Regions from separate parts of the Homo sapiens genome. Here regions 1, 3 and 4 are each linked to region 2. The links are contacts of gene promoters, found by promoter capture Hi-C in human tissues and cell types (Jung and others, 2019). All regions are on one chromosome and are shown on one strand. The core of a region is centred on a gene start or on the middle of the fragment in contact, and the rest is flanking DNA. Distances in the headings are between cores, read along the strand shown. Region 1 has its middle 3.7 kb from the start of LIMCH1. Region 2 holds the start of APBB2 (amyloid beta precursor protein binding family B member 2). Region 3 overlaps LIMCH1 (LIM and calponin homology domains 1). Region 4 overlaps NSUN7 (NOP2/Sun RNA methyltransferase family member 7).

What was found. The method cuts DNA at HindIII sites, captures the fragments that hold promoters and counts their contacts. A contact is called where the count stands out against the background at its distance.
Region 1: a contact is called between a fragment that was not itself captured here and the fragment with the promoter of APBB2 in region 2, in 1 of the 25 tissues and cell types used here (hippocampus).
Region 3: a contact is called between a fragment that was not itself captured here and the fragment with the promoter of APBB2 in region 2, in 2 of the 25 tissues and cell types used here (hippocampus and liver).
Region 4: a contact is called between a fragment that was not itself captured here and the fragment with the promoter of APBB2 in region 2, in 1 of the 25 tissues and cell types used here (mesenchymal stem cells).

Annotation. Positions count from the first base shown.
Region 1 is chr4:41,533,079-41,535,778 of GRCh38, forward strand. It overlaps a transcript of LIMCH1 not described here. Among named protein-coding and RNA genes, the nearest start is that of LIMCH1, 3.7 kb to the right of the region's middle. The HindIII fragment of the contact is 5,667 bases long and covers 1-2,700 here.
Region 2 is chr4:41,213,000-41,215,851 of GRCh38, forward strand. APBB2 (amyloid beta precursor protein binding family B member 2) reads right to left here and starts at 1,543. Exons shown (of 18, transcript NM_004307.2): 1 at 1,406-1,543. RefSeq lists silencers at 918-1,227, 1,638-1,807. The HindIII fragment of the contact is 7,499 bases long and covers 1-2,852 here.
Region 3 is chr4:41,605,809-41,608,656 of GRCh38, forward strand. It overlaps LIMCH1 (LIM and calponin homology domains 1), which reads left to right. Exons shown (of 32, transcript NM_001330672.2): 4 at 86-196. The coding sequence starts at 188. Among named protein-coding and RNA genes, the nearest start is that of LIMCH1, 69 kb to the left of the region's middle. The HindIII fragment of the contact is 3,635 bases long and covers 1-2,848 here.
Region 4 is chr4:40,791,917-40,794,683 of GRCh38, forward strand. It overlaps NSUN7 (NOP2/Sun RNA methyltransferase family member 7), which reads left to right. Exons shown (of 12, transcript NM_024677.6): 9 at 2,459-2,560. Among named protein-coding and RNA genes, the nearest start is that of NSUN7, 43 kb to the left of the region's middle. The HindIII fragment of the contact is 3,782 bases long and covers 1-2,767 here.

The DNA of each region.
Region 1 (2,700 bases), core at 47-2,546, 320 kb after region 2:
TTGTGTACTTGCCATGTGGGTCTTTCTATAGAACAGCTTACAGGGTTGCAGCTTGCATCATCAGAGTGAGCAAGCAGGAAGGGCCTGAGAAAGAAAGAAAGAGAAAGGGAGGGAGACAACAAGTGAGATGGAAGTCACAGTCCTTTATAACCTAATCTCTGAAGTGATGTTTTGTCAGTTCTGCCTTATTCTATTAATTAAAAGCAAGTTGCTAGGCCCAGCCCACATTCAAGGGGAGGAGGTCCCACAAGGGTCTGAATGCCAGGAGGAAGGGATCTCTGGGAGCTCTTCAGAAGCTGCTTGTCCCGATGAATGAAATGGTTGTATCCGTCTATTGAGCAGCCAGGGCATAGATCTCTCATTCTCCTGAACACCGGCTCCTTGTGCTTATAGGACTTTAAAGATAACACAGTTTTCCTTGGTTAACCTTTCTTGCATGACATCCAAGGACTTTTTTCTAATTTTCTTCTGCACATATATACCAAATAGAGATGATGTGTTCTCTCTCTTGCCTTCCAAGTAAAAATCCACTTCAAGACATAATTCCTGCCTTTTAGGAGACTACTTTCTAGAAGACAAATATAGAAGAAAGGTCAAATGTAAGGTAGACTGTGAAATGTTAATGAAGTATAATATGCAAGAAAGACCAAGGAAGAAATTTTGATTTGTGATTAAGAACTTTGGAAGGGGTGGGATTTGAACAGGGCGTCTACAAATAGTGAAGATCATGGAGTTAGAGGAAGAACAACTAGCTTCAGGGCATGGAATGAGAAAGGCTCTGAGTCAGAAGGACCTGGGTCTTATCTGGAAGTGGCTATCATTTGCATTATTTGCACTGGGTCCAGTGGCTGCAGCTGGACGCAGAGTCCCTGAGAAAATCCATGCTTGGAAACTAGACCAGGAATAGTAAGCTGAGACCAGAAATGCCATCTGGGGGTGTTTGGACTCATTTTGTGTGCAGTAAAAGCCACTGAAAACAAGGGAATCTCGTGTTCCAGATAACTGAGGTGGCCGTATAGAAAGCTGATTATGGCAAGATACCAGCAATAAAAGTCAAGTAGGAGATAAGTAGTCCAAATGAGAGAGGATGGACACTTAAACCTTAGTAGAAGCAGTGGGATTAGAGATGAGGAGACAGGATTTACTTTTCACTAAATGTAATATGCCATCAATGATGACACACACCATTTTTAAAAATTATAGCTCATTTAAAAAAGCTGCCAATTCAATGATGACACAATGCTAAGACACTGGCAATGAAAAAAATGCATCTTTATTTCAGAGGTTAAAAAAGGTGTACATCTTAGAACTGATGAAATACAACAGATAATTTTAGGAAGATGACATTTGCATTTTGGACTTGAGCAGTGTGGAGGGTACTGATGCCATTAATAGGAATCATGGGAACATGGGAATGAGAAATGAGCTCCAAAAGAAAAGATGCATTCTCTTTTGGACATATTGAGTTGGCTATCTCTAAAAGATATTCATGTGCAGATGTCTGGCAGACTATTAGAAATGCTGGTTTGGAACTCAAGGAAAAAGTTACAAAAAATTGGACTAGGTTAATGGATGGACTATTTTGAAGTTAAATCCTATGCTTCAGTATAAATGAAGACATATTTTTTTTTTCTATAACCACTATGAAGTTCCCCTCCCCCTCCAAATTATAGTATTGTCTTTGGAGTGTTTGATCCACATTGGCAGGGACTGGGATATGGAGAAAGGAGTGAAAAAAGGAGTTTGAGACTACAGGAAAAGTCATTAGCAATTGCACTTAGAATTGAAAATCATGACAGAAAGACCGGTGCAGTGGCTCATGCCTATAATCCCAGAACTTTGGGAGCCTAAGGCAGGTGATCGCTTGAGCCCAGGAGTTCAAGACCAGCCTAGGCAACATGGCAAAATCTTGTCTTTACTAAAAATACAAAAAATTAGCCAGGCATGGTTGTGCATGCCTGTAGTCCCAGCTACTTAGGAGGCTGAGGTAGGAGAATCACCTGGGCCTGGGAAGTCAAGCCTGCAGTGAGCTTTGAATGTGCCACTGGACTCCAGCCTGGGTGATGGGAGTCGGACCCTGTCACAAAAAAAAAAAAAAAAAAAAAAGAAAAGAAAAGAAAGATCTTCATATAATTGACAATTCATTGAGATATCATATCCATCCAATCTTGTGCCCTGCAGCCTCTCTTATACCCCTGATATTTCATTCTTAGTACTAGATGAGTATATTAATTTGCTCTGATGGCCATAACAAAGTACCACAGATTGGATGGCTTAAATAATAGAAATTTATTTTGTCAATTCTGTAGGTTAGAAGTCTGAGATCAAGGTGTGATCAGAGTGGGTTTGTTCTAAGGCCTGTCTCCTTGGCTCCCAGATGGCTGCCTTTCCCTGCATCTTCACGTGGTCTTTCCCCTGTATGTATCTGTGTCCATATTTTGCCTTTTTATAAGGACACTGTCGTATTGGATTAGGGCCCCCTCAGATGACCTCATATAACTTAATTACCTTCTTACAGTCACTACAGTCACATTCTGAGTTAGAACGGGTTAGGAGTTCAAGATACGAATTGGGGGAGGGAGGAGGAGACAATTTAGCTCGTAACAGTGGGTTAGCCAGCTAAGCCCTTAAATTCTTATTCACGTGTGTTTTGAATGCCTAGACTTGCTAGCTGAAGTCTAATATCCTCTTTCTGCACCA
Region 2 (2,852 bases), core at 293-2,792:
CTAAAAGGCCAGCCACACAAATTCTAATACTCTGCATTATTATGGCCATTTGGGGACAAGATTTTAAATCTGAAACCATGACAAGAAAAAAAAAAAAAGCAAGATTTAAGAGAGTAAACTCCAGAAACAACAGATCAAACTGCCATTGTGTTTGTTTTTTTTAAATCAGTGAAATATTAAAACAAATGATAAACCCATGCCAACCTCACAAAGTTTCCTCATTCCTTGGAATTCAAACACCACCGATGGCATCATTTTATGATAATCCTTTGGGTATTTCACGTAAGTAATTAGACACAATGTAAAGCCAGTGACTGAGGGACTTAAACAAACTGTCCCCTCCGAGAGCCCAGTTGGAGCTTCCGACACTGACCTTATTCTCCTCTCAATTTTAACCCTCCTCAACCACTCAATCCATCCAAAAACGTCTGTGACAGTCGTGGCTCTAAAACCGCGCAGAACTTGACTACAGAACGGTCGGTGACAACTCCACATATGATTTATCCAAATTAATTTATTTTTTTGAATTCTAGTCCCATGCTCCCTCGGCTGTTTGCCCCGAACCCGTAGTCTACACCACTTCACCGACGTGAAGACCACCTTTCATTGTTTCTATGGGTCTCAGCATCCTTCCCTCCGTCCAGCTCTGTTCTCGCCGCACAAATGTCATTTCTAGCGTACCACCCTCCATTCCGCCCGGTGGGCAGCGCAGGGGCTTTCGGGTCCCAGTGGCCAGTTTCCTGGAGTCGGTCCCCTATGCACAGCCATTTTCTAGTTAAACGCTCTCTCTGCCACCGAGGGGGAAAAGGAACTTTTCCCCCCTTTCATGTCTCATGGGCTGGCCTCTGAACCCCTCGTGGAGAAGCCAACCCCGGCTCCAACTCCCCGGCAGGAGCGCGCTGCCGCCCAGGAGAGACAGCCGAGCGGCACAGCGGAGGCCGGTGCCAGGACAAGGGGGTGTGCGCTCTTCCCGCAGGCGCCCACCCTCACTTTTCCCCTCTGCAGTCCCCACCCGGGCGCACCGCCTCCAACCCGGTCTCCCCCGCCCCAGGCCCTGCCAAGCCGGGGCTGCTGAGGGAAAGAGGGCGCCGGGAAGCGGGAGGGATGGAAGTCAAGGAGAGTGAGCCCGCAGTCGCCGTGCCACTGGCCCTGCGGCGCGGGCGCAGGGCGCACGGGACTCCGCAGCAGGCGCCCCGCTGCAGATGCCGCGGCAGCTGCTGCAGGTGTGGCTGCGGCTGAGCGGGCAGCAGTGGCCGCGGAGCCCCGGGGCCGGGAGCAGAGGAGAAGCCGCCGGGGGAACCCGCAGCCGCTCGCCGCACGCTGCTGCCGCTACCCGGGTGTTTCCCCAGCACTCTCGTGCTGCCCCGGAATCCGGGGCAAAGGCAAGGAAGAAAGCTGGGCTCACCAGTGGTGCGCGCGGCGCTCGCCTCGGCTCCGGCGCCCAGCGGCTCTGCTCCAGTCTCGCCCTTCCCGGAGCGCCCAGATCAGATGCGGTTACAGCGCACTAGCTTCCTACTTGAGACCAGAACGGGCTCCGGCAACTGAGCATGCTCAGTGCCGTTCCGCGAGTCCCGCGCAGGGAGCGGCGCTGACGAGATTCCACTTCTCCAGGCTTTGGCAGCGGCTGCGCGAGGGAAGGCTGGAGGGACCCGGCGGGGAGGGGGCCGAATGGGAGAAAGGCGGGGCCGGGGGGTGGGGGCCGGGCAGAAGGAGGCGGGCCGCGCTCCCAGGGCGACCCCTGCAGGTGGAGGCGGCAGGGCCTGCGGGAGGCACCCTCCCCAATCGCCTGGGAACACGCAGGGAGGCAATGGGTCCCCCAGTAAGACCCAAAGGCAGGACGTGCAGTGCAGCCCGGGTATCCCCTCCGTGTGGCTGGTGTCTGTCTGCACCAAAAGGCAGTTGGGTTACCTTAGCCCTGGCTTTTCTCCCACACGCCAGCATTCCCTTGCAATAGGAAAATGTCCCCACAGGAGAGCTGCCCACACCCACCCAGGCTAACTGCAAGTTGTAGGCGACACCTTCTCCTTCCTTCTACCTCCTATCCCCACCCCCAGGCATATGCCGCACACACACTCTTCTTTGATCCGGAAATCACAAGATAATATCAGGGGAGAGATACAACTGCCGGAGAGGAAAAGGAGGTTTTCCTTTCCATTGCCAATAATATTATCTATAACTCTAATTGTAAGCGTGCAAACAAAGCCCTGATAAGAGTCGAGTCTCAGTAAACGGTAAACCGTGCTCTGCCCCAGACGCTGTGAATGACATCCCCAAAGTATCCTTAGGATTGCTCTTCACCAGGGCAGCGGTTGTCAAACTGGAGCCTGGATCAGAATCGCCTGGAGGGTTTGCTGAAGTACAAATCCCTGAGTCCCAATCTGTGTCTCTGAATGGGTAGATATGTGGTGGGGCCCAAGCATCTGTATATCTAACAAGTTCCCATGGGATGCTGATGCTGCTGGTGTGAGGACTATACACTTTAGAGAACCCTACCCATACACACACACACACACAGTCCTACCAAGGATCTCGAATTAAAAACTCACGTGATTCTTCCTATGAGGACTCTATGCAGTGGGGTGGGCATTACTTTATTCTTTCCTACATGAGTTTATTAAGGATCCACGAGGTCTTGTACTAGGCCTGAGGATAGTGGTGAATTTAAAAGCCCAGGCCCCTGCTTTCATGGAATTTATAGTCCGGCCGGGTGACAGACACCTATCAAATAATCACTCAAAACGGTTATTTCAAACAGGTAGAGTGCTGGGAGGGAAATGCACAAGGTGCGAATAGAGTGTATAGAGGGACCCTCATGCAGACTCAGTGAGGTTGTTACGAAGGGATGGGAGGGG
Region 3 (2,848 bases), core at 118-2,617, 390 kb after region 2:
TTCCTGTTAGTGGTACATTATTGACTCCTTAGTTTAAACGTCATTCTTGAGGGAAAAATCTGCTCTTGTGCGTTTTGTTCCACAGGTATTAGTTACCATTTACTGGCTGGGAAAAGCAGCAAACAGCTGCACATCCTACAGCGGAACGACACTAAACCTGAAGGAGTTTGAAGGATTGTTGGCTCAGATGCGAAAGGTAACTTGGCTTTTCTTCTTTATCCCATAAGCGTTAGACAAGGTGGGAAAGCTACACATTTGCTTGTTTTTAAGATTACTAGAGTACTGGGTTGTGGAATGGTATGAGCCAAAGATATGCACTCAAGGAAACGATCACTTGTCTTACCAATGACATCTTTGCCTCATGCATGTCACACCTACCTGCACTTTCATACCCTTCAGAGAACAGGAGTTCTGAGCTCCATCCAACTTTTTAATTCCAAAAAAGCAAATTCAATCTATCAGTATATGCCTTTGTATGCCAAGATGCTCAGTGCTTGTTTTCTTGGGGGAATAATGCTTGAATTAAACAATGCAGTATTATGCAAAAATGAAGACTCGCTCTGCACTTTTGTGCTAAAGGGCATTTTGCTTACCCACTGGGGCCTTGATGTGGGTGAGGTAACGTGAACCAAGCTCTTACCTTGGCATACGCTCTGGACAAGGCGGGATACATTAAATGCATTCTCCTCTAACATGTGCATGTTATAGCCACTGTTTTTGAATGACATAGGAATTTGGAAAACATTTCATACATTGTTAAAAGCTTCATTTGTTTCTTTGAGTATAGAAAAGACTGACCTAAGGTAGGGATTTGTCAAGGAAACAGTTGAATGTTTCATGTGTACTACTTGCCTGAATGTTTCATCTGAAGGTCCAGCAATATACAACTCATACAAATGGCTAGTACATAGTGTTACCCAGGAGAGGCCCTCCCAACCCGCCTTAGTGTACAGGTAAGGCTTATTTATAATGGACCTCCATGTACTTTTTTAATTATTTTATTTTTTTGAGATGGATTCTTGCTGTGTCGCCCAGGCTGGAGTGCAGTGGCGCAATCTCAGCTGACTGCAACGTCCGCCTCCCAGATTCAAGTGATTCTCCTGCCTCAGTCTCCCGAGTAGCTGGGATTATAGGCAGCCACCACTAAGCCTGGCTAATTTTTGTATTTTTAGTGGAGACAGGGTTTCACCGTGTTGGCCAGGCTGGTCTTGAACTCCTGACCTCAGGTGATCCACCCACCTTGGCCTCCCAAAGTGCTGAGATTGCAAGTGTGAGCCACCGCACCCGGCCCCTCCAGGCATTTTGGATAAAGTCCACATTAGAGGACAAATAATTGAGGCCTTACTCTTCCTCATTTCTCTAGTATGCAAAATAAATGAACTAGAAACATTCAGTTCCTTGCAATTTTTCTTTTAATACTGAAAGCAAGAATTGGTTCCAATTTTCTAAACATTTATTTTCCTTTCCTTAAATTAAAGCTAATGGTCCTGATAGTTCTTCACATTTGGCTAAGGCCAGTCTGGCTCATGTATTTATAAATGGCCAAAGCTTTCATATTGGTCATAACGCACATACACAAGGTACTTTAAGCTGAATTCCTTTAAAAATTAAATAAACACAGACACACAATGAAGCACAACTCATTGCTTCTCAGTCTCACCTCTTATTTGCCCTTTAATTTCTCATCTAACATCCAGTCTGGATTTGAGATGTCTAAATGTTTATTGTTTTTATATTAAATTTGGACTTGAATAATAATAGATGGGTCATGAAGCTTTGTCTCACAGTTCCCCTGCTAGATTCTGTTGGAATCTGATTTATTCTCATGATTGACATTTCTTACTACTAGTCCAGCTCCTGTAGAATCTGAGCAGCTATTGGTTTCTTCAACTCTCCTAGCTTCTCTTTCTACAGTTAGTTTCTTCAACTGCTGTAAAATGACCTGTTGTTAACAGCTGTTACCCTTTTTGTTGAATGTAGGTAACATCACAGGACATGGTGGAGTAAGTAGTATCCCTGGATACATGACTCTTAGCAAAAATGGCCAGCCATGATACTGCCATATCTCCATCTAGAGAGAAAATGACTTGAACTTCACTGGACTATCTGAGCACCTGGAAATACTAGTTTTATATGTGATATATATAATCTCATTTTGTCAGTTAGGATCGGGTTCAGCTGGGAAACACAAAAGCCTCAAAATAACAGATAAAATAAGACAACAATTTTATTTCTAATTCACATAAATGAGACGTGGACATGAGCAGTCCAGGGCTGATGTGGGGTTCCATGTCTTTTCACCAACAGAAGGCCCAAGCTTCTTTGTCTTTTTGTACCAACAACCTCAACCCATGGCTGTTCACCTGCTGATCCAAGATGGCTGTTCAGGCTTTAGCCATCATGTCCACATTCAGCCAAGAAAAGGGAGGAATGGCGGGGAGAAGATTCCATGCTCTCCCTTTAAACACACCTCTGGGAAATTACACACTACACACATAGCTACATCTTACAGACTTGAACTTGGTCATGCATCCATATCTAGCTGCAAGCAAAGACTTGGGGAAAGTAGACTTTATTTCAGCTAAAAACTGTAGGCATTTTTGTTAGGAGAGCAGATATTGAGGGACAACTGTAATCTCTTCTGCACATATGCAGGCTGAAATAAATTTGAAATTAGTTTTTTTTCTTTCACAAAGGAGATTATCCACAAATTTTTATATTCATTTTTCTAGTGGGTGAAATGTGCATAAAAATGATTCACTAGGGTGCAACTTGTTAAGTTCTATAGTAAAGGTGACCCAGGTAGAGCCCTTGGCATAAAGTCTGGCATGTAGTAGGTATTCATAGA
Region 4 (2,767 bases), core at 226-2,725, 420 kb before region 2:
TATGGTCATGTAGCTAGTAAGTAGGGAAGCTGGGATTCAAATTCAGGTGGGTTAGCACATTTTCCTTCCACTAAACGACACTATCTTTAACTGGGTTTACACTGTACCACATGGAATTTTGACTTGCTATAGAAAATTTCTTTCCAGAGAGACTTCAGCCAAAGAATAACCAATTCAGATGGTAGAATGGTAGGTAGGCTGAGAAAATTTCTAGATGAACTTTAAGAAATAATCAAAGAACAATTAGTAGACACTGAAAGAAAAGGGGGAAGGAAAAAAGGGGGAAGAAATAGCAGCTATAATAAGCATAGCAGTCAGGAGAACTAGAGCTCAGAACTGTGAGACTCTGGCCTTATCCTGGGCCATTTTGAGGTGGAAATCCAGAAAAAAAATAAACCACAGAATAAAAATAAACTAAAGGCTAGAGGAGAAAGGCCCAGAGGAAAATACAAATAAGGAAAGTGGGGAAAGGAAAACATTTCCTAGGTACTGGTAATGTTTTGAAAGCCTTGATGAGGAGATGATAGGATAAGCTAAGAAGTTGTCGTATACTGGCCGGGAGCGGTGGCTCACGCCTGTAATCCCAGCACTTTGGGAGGCCGAGGAGGGCGGATCACGAGGTCAGGAGCTCGAGACCATCCTGGCTAACACGGTGAAACCCCGTCTCTACTAAAAATACAAAAAATTAGCCGGGCGAGGTGGCGGGCGCCTGTAGTCCCAGCTACTCGGGAGGCTGAGGCAGGAGAATGGCTTGAACCCCGGGGGGCGGAGCCTGCAGTGAGCCGAGATCGCGCCACTGCACTCCAGCCTGGGCGACAGCAAGACTCCATCTCATTTAAAAAAAAAAAAGTTGTCGTATCCTGAAGTAAGCGGGCTTTTGAAGGAACCTGTACTCTGAGGAGCTAAAAGCTTGAGCAAATAAGGAGCTGCCGACCTAGTGACTCTGGTGGGAACGTGGAACGTTAGCCAGAAACTTAGTGGGGGTGAATCCGAAAGATTATTTTATTAAACTTAGATACAAGGTAGAATGGAACAATAAGGAATTAGTTTTAAAAACATTTTAACATCGAAAAATATTAGAACCATTGAGAAATATATGAAGTTGGTCCTTGCTAACGACTTGGAATTATTTTAAGATAGAATTAAAGAAATAGATAATACGACTTTGGAGTATAATAATTTGTAATAGTCCTTTAACAAGTAATGGATAGTTTTAGAACAGAGAAAAAAAATGTGAAATGTAGGCCAGGCACAGTGGCTCACACCTGTAATCCCACCACTTTGGGAGGCTGAGGTGGGTAGATCGGTTGAGGCCAGGAGTTCGAGTTCAGCCTGACCAACATAGTGAAACCCAGTCTCTACTAAAAATACAAAAATTAGCCGGGCATCATGGTGAACACCTGTAGTCCCAGCTATTCAGGAGGCTGAGGCATGAGAATTGCTTGAACCCAGGAGGCAGAGGTTGCAGTGAGCCGAGATGGTGCCACTGCACTCCAGCCTGGATGACAGAGTGAGATCCTGTCTCAAAAAAACAGCAACAACAACAACAATAACAAAAAACAAAAAACAAAACCTCATGAAATGTAAAACTAAATTGGGAAGAAATGGAGTTTAATTAACCTTTAGTGATAGTACTGGAATGGGCAACAGCCACATACATGGTATAAATAATTGGCTGTCATGCTCTAGTGAGTTCTAGAGAGGCAGTATAATACAGAGTTTAAAAATTTGGGTCCTCTGGTTAGATTTCTGAGTTAGAATCCTGGCTGTCCACTTAGTAGCTATATAACCTTAGACAAGTTGTTTAATGTATGTTTAAACAATTATCTCAATGTTAGAAGGGCTAGTAATTCTTCAAGAGGTCGTTAAAATAATCTACATAAAGTAGCATTCAGTATATCTTCATTAATATTGTCAATACATATATTTAAATTATTTTTCAAAAATTAAAAAATGTAAGACATTATTTCTTAATCTGTTATGAAGACATAACATTTGCTTTTCTGAATTTTTTCTTCCAAAGTTTCTTTTGGAAAGTTAGTATTTTAAACCATATCCTTGTGTGTTCCCAGATCTGACTATAGCCCATTCGTTTTTATCTTGGAAAATAAATCTTATTTTCTCTATCCAGTATTAGTCTCGAGACTGACGGCATTTTCTCTTCTGTGTCTAAATGACTTATATGACTACTTGGATGACTATCTCATAGCAACTTGGAGAAAAACAATATTAAATATTTTCAATATTGTTTTTGAAAAGCAATATTAAAATGAAACAGAATTAACTTTATTGTTCTAATTTTTAAGTCAACATTTTAATATCTATTTAGTTTTAATAGATATTTTCCATGAAACACTTTTATTGGTAGGCAAAATGATTGAAAAATTATATGATGATAACAATATGTAAAAAGTTTTTAATGGTGCTATATTTAAAAGCATTTCTTTTTAAAATTCAGATACAGAATTCCTTAAAGATCACTCTCAAGGAGGCATCTCAGTGGACAAACTTCACGTTCTTGCTCAACAGCAGTATGAACAGCTAACACATGCAATGAAATGTAAGGTTGTCATAGGCACCATCTTGTTAAAATAAGGTGTACATTTTAGAAATATTAGTCTTTCACGATCTATTATAATCAAGCAATGAAGTGTGAGCCATGAGCACATTTTCCAGAACATTCAGTCTTACTGCCTTCAAATAACAAAATATTTATCTTTACCAATTTAATCTGTTTTTAGAATATATGCTTTACTGTAATTTTAAA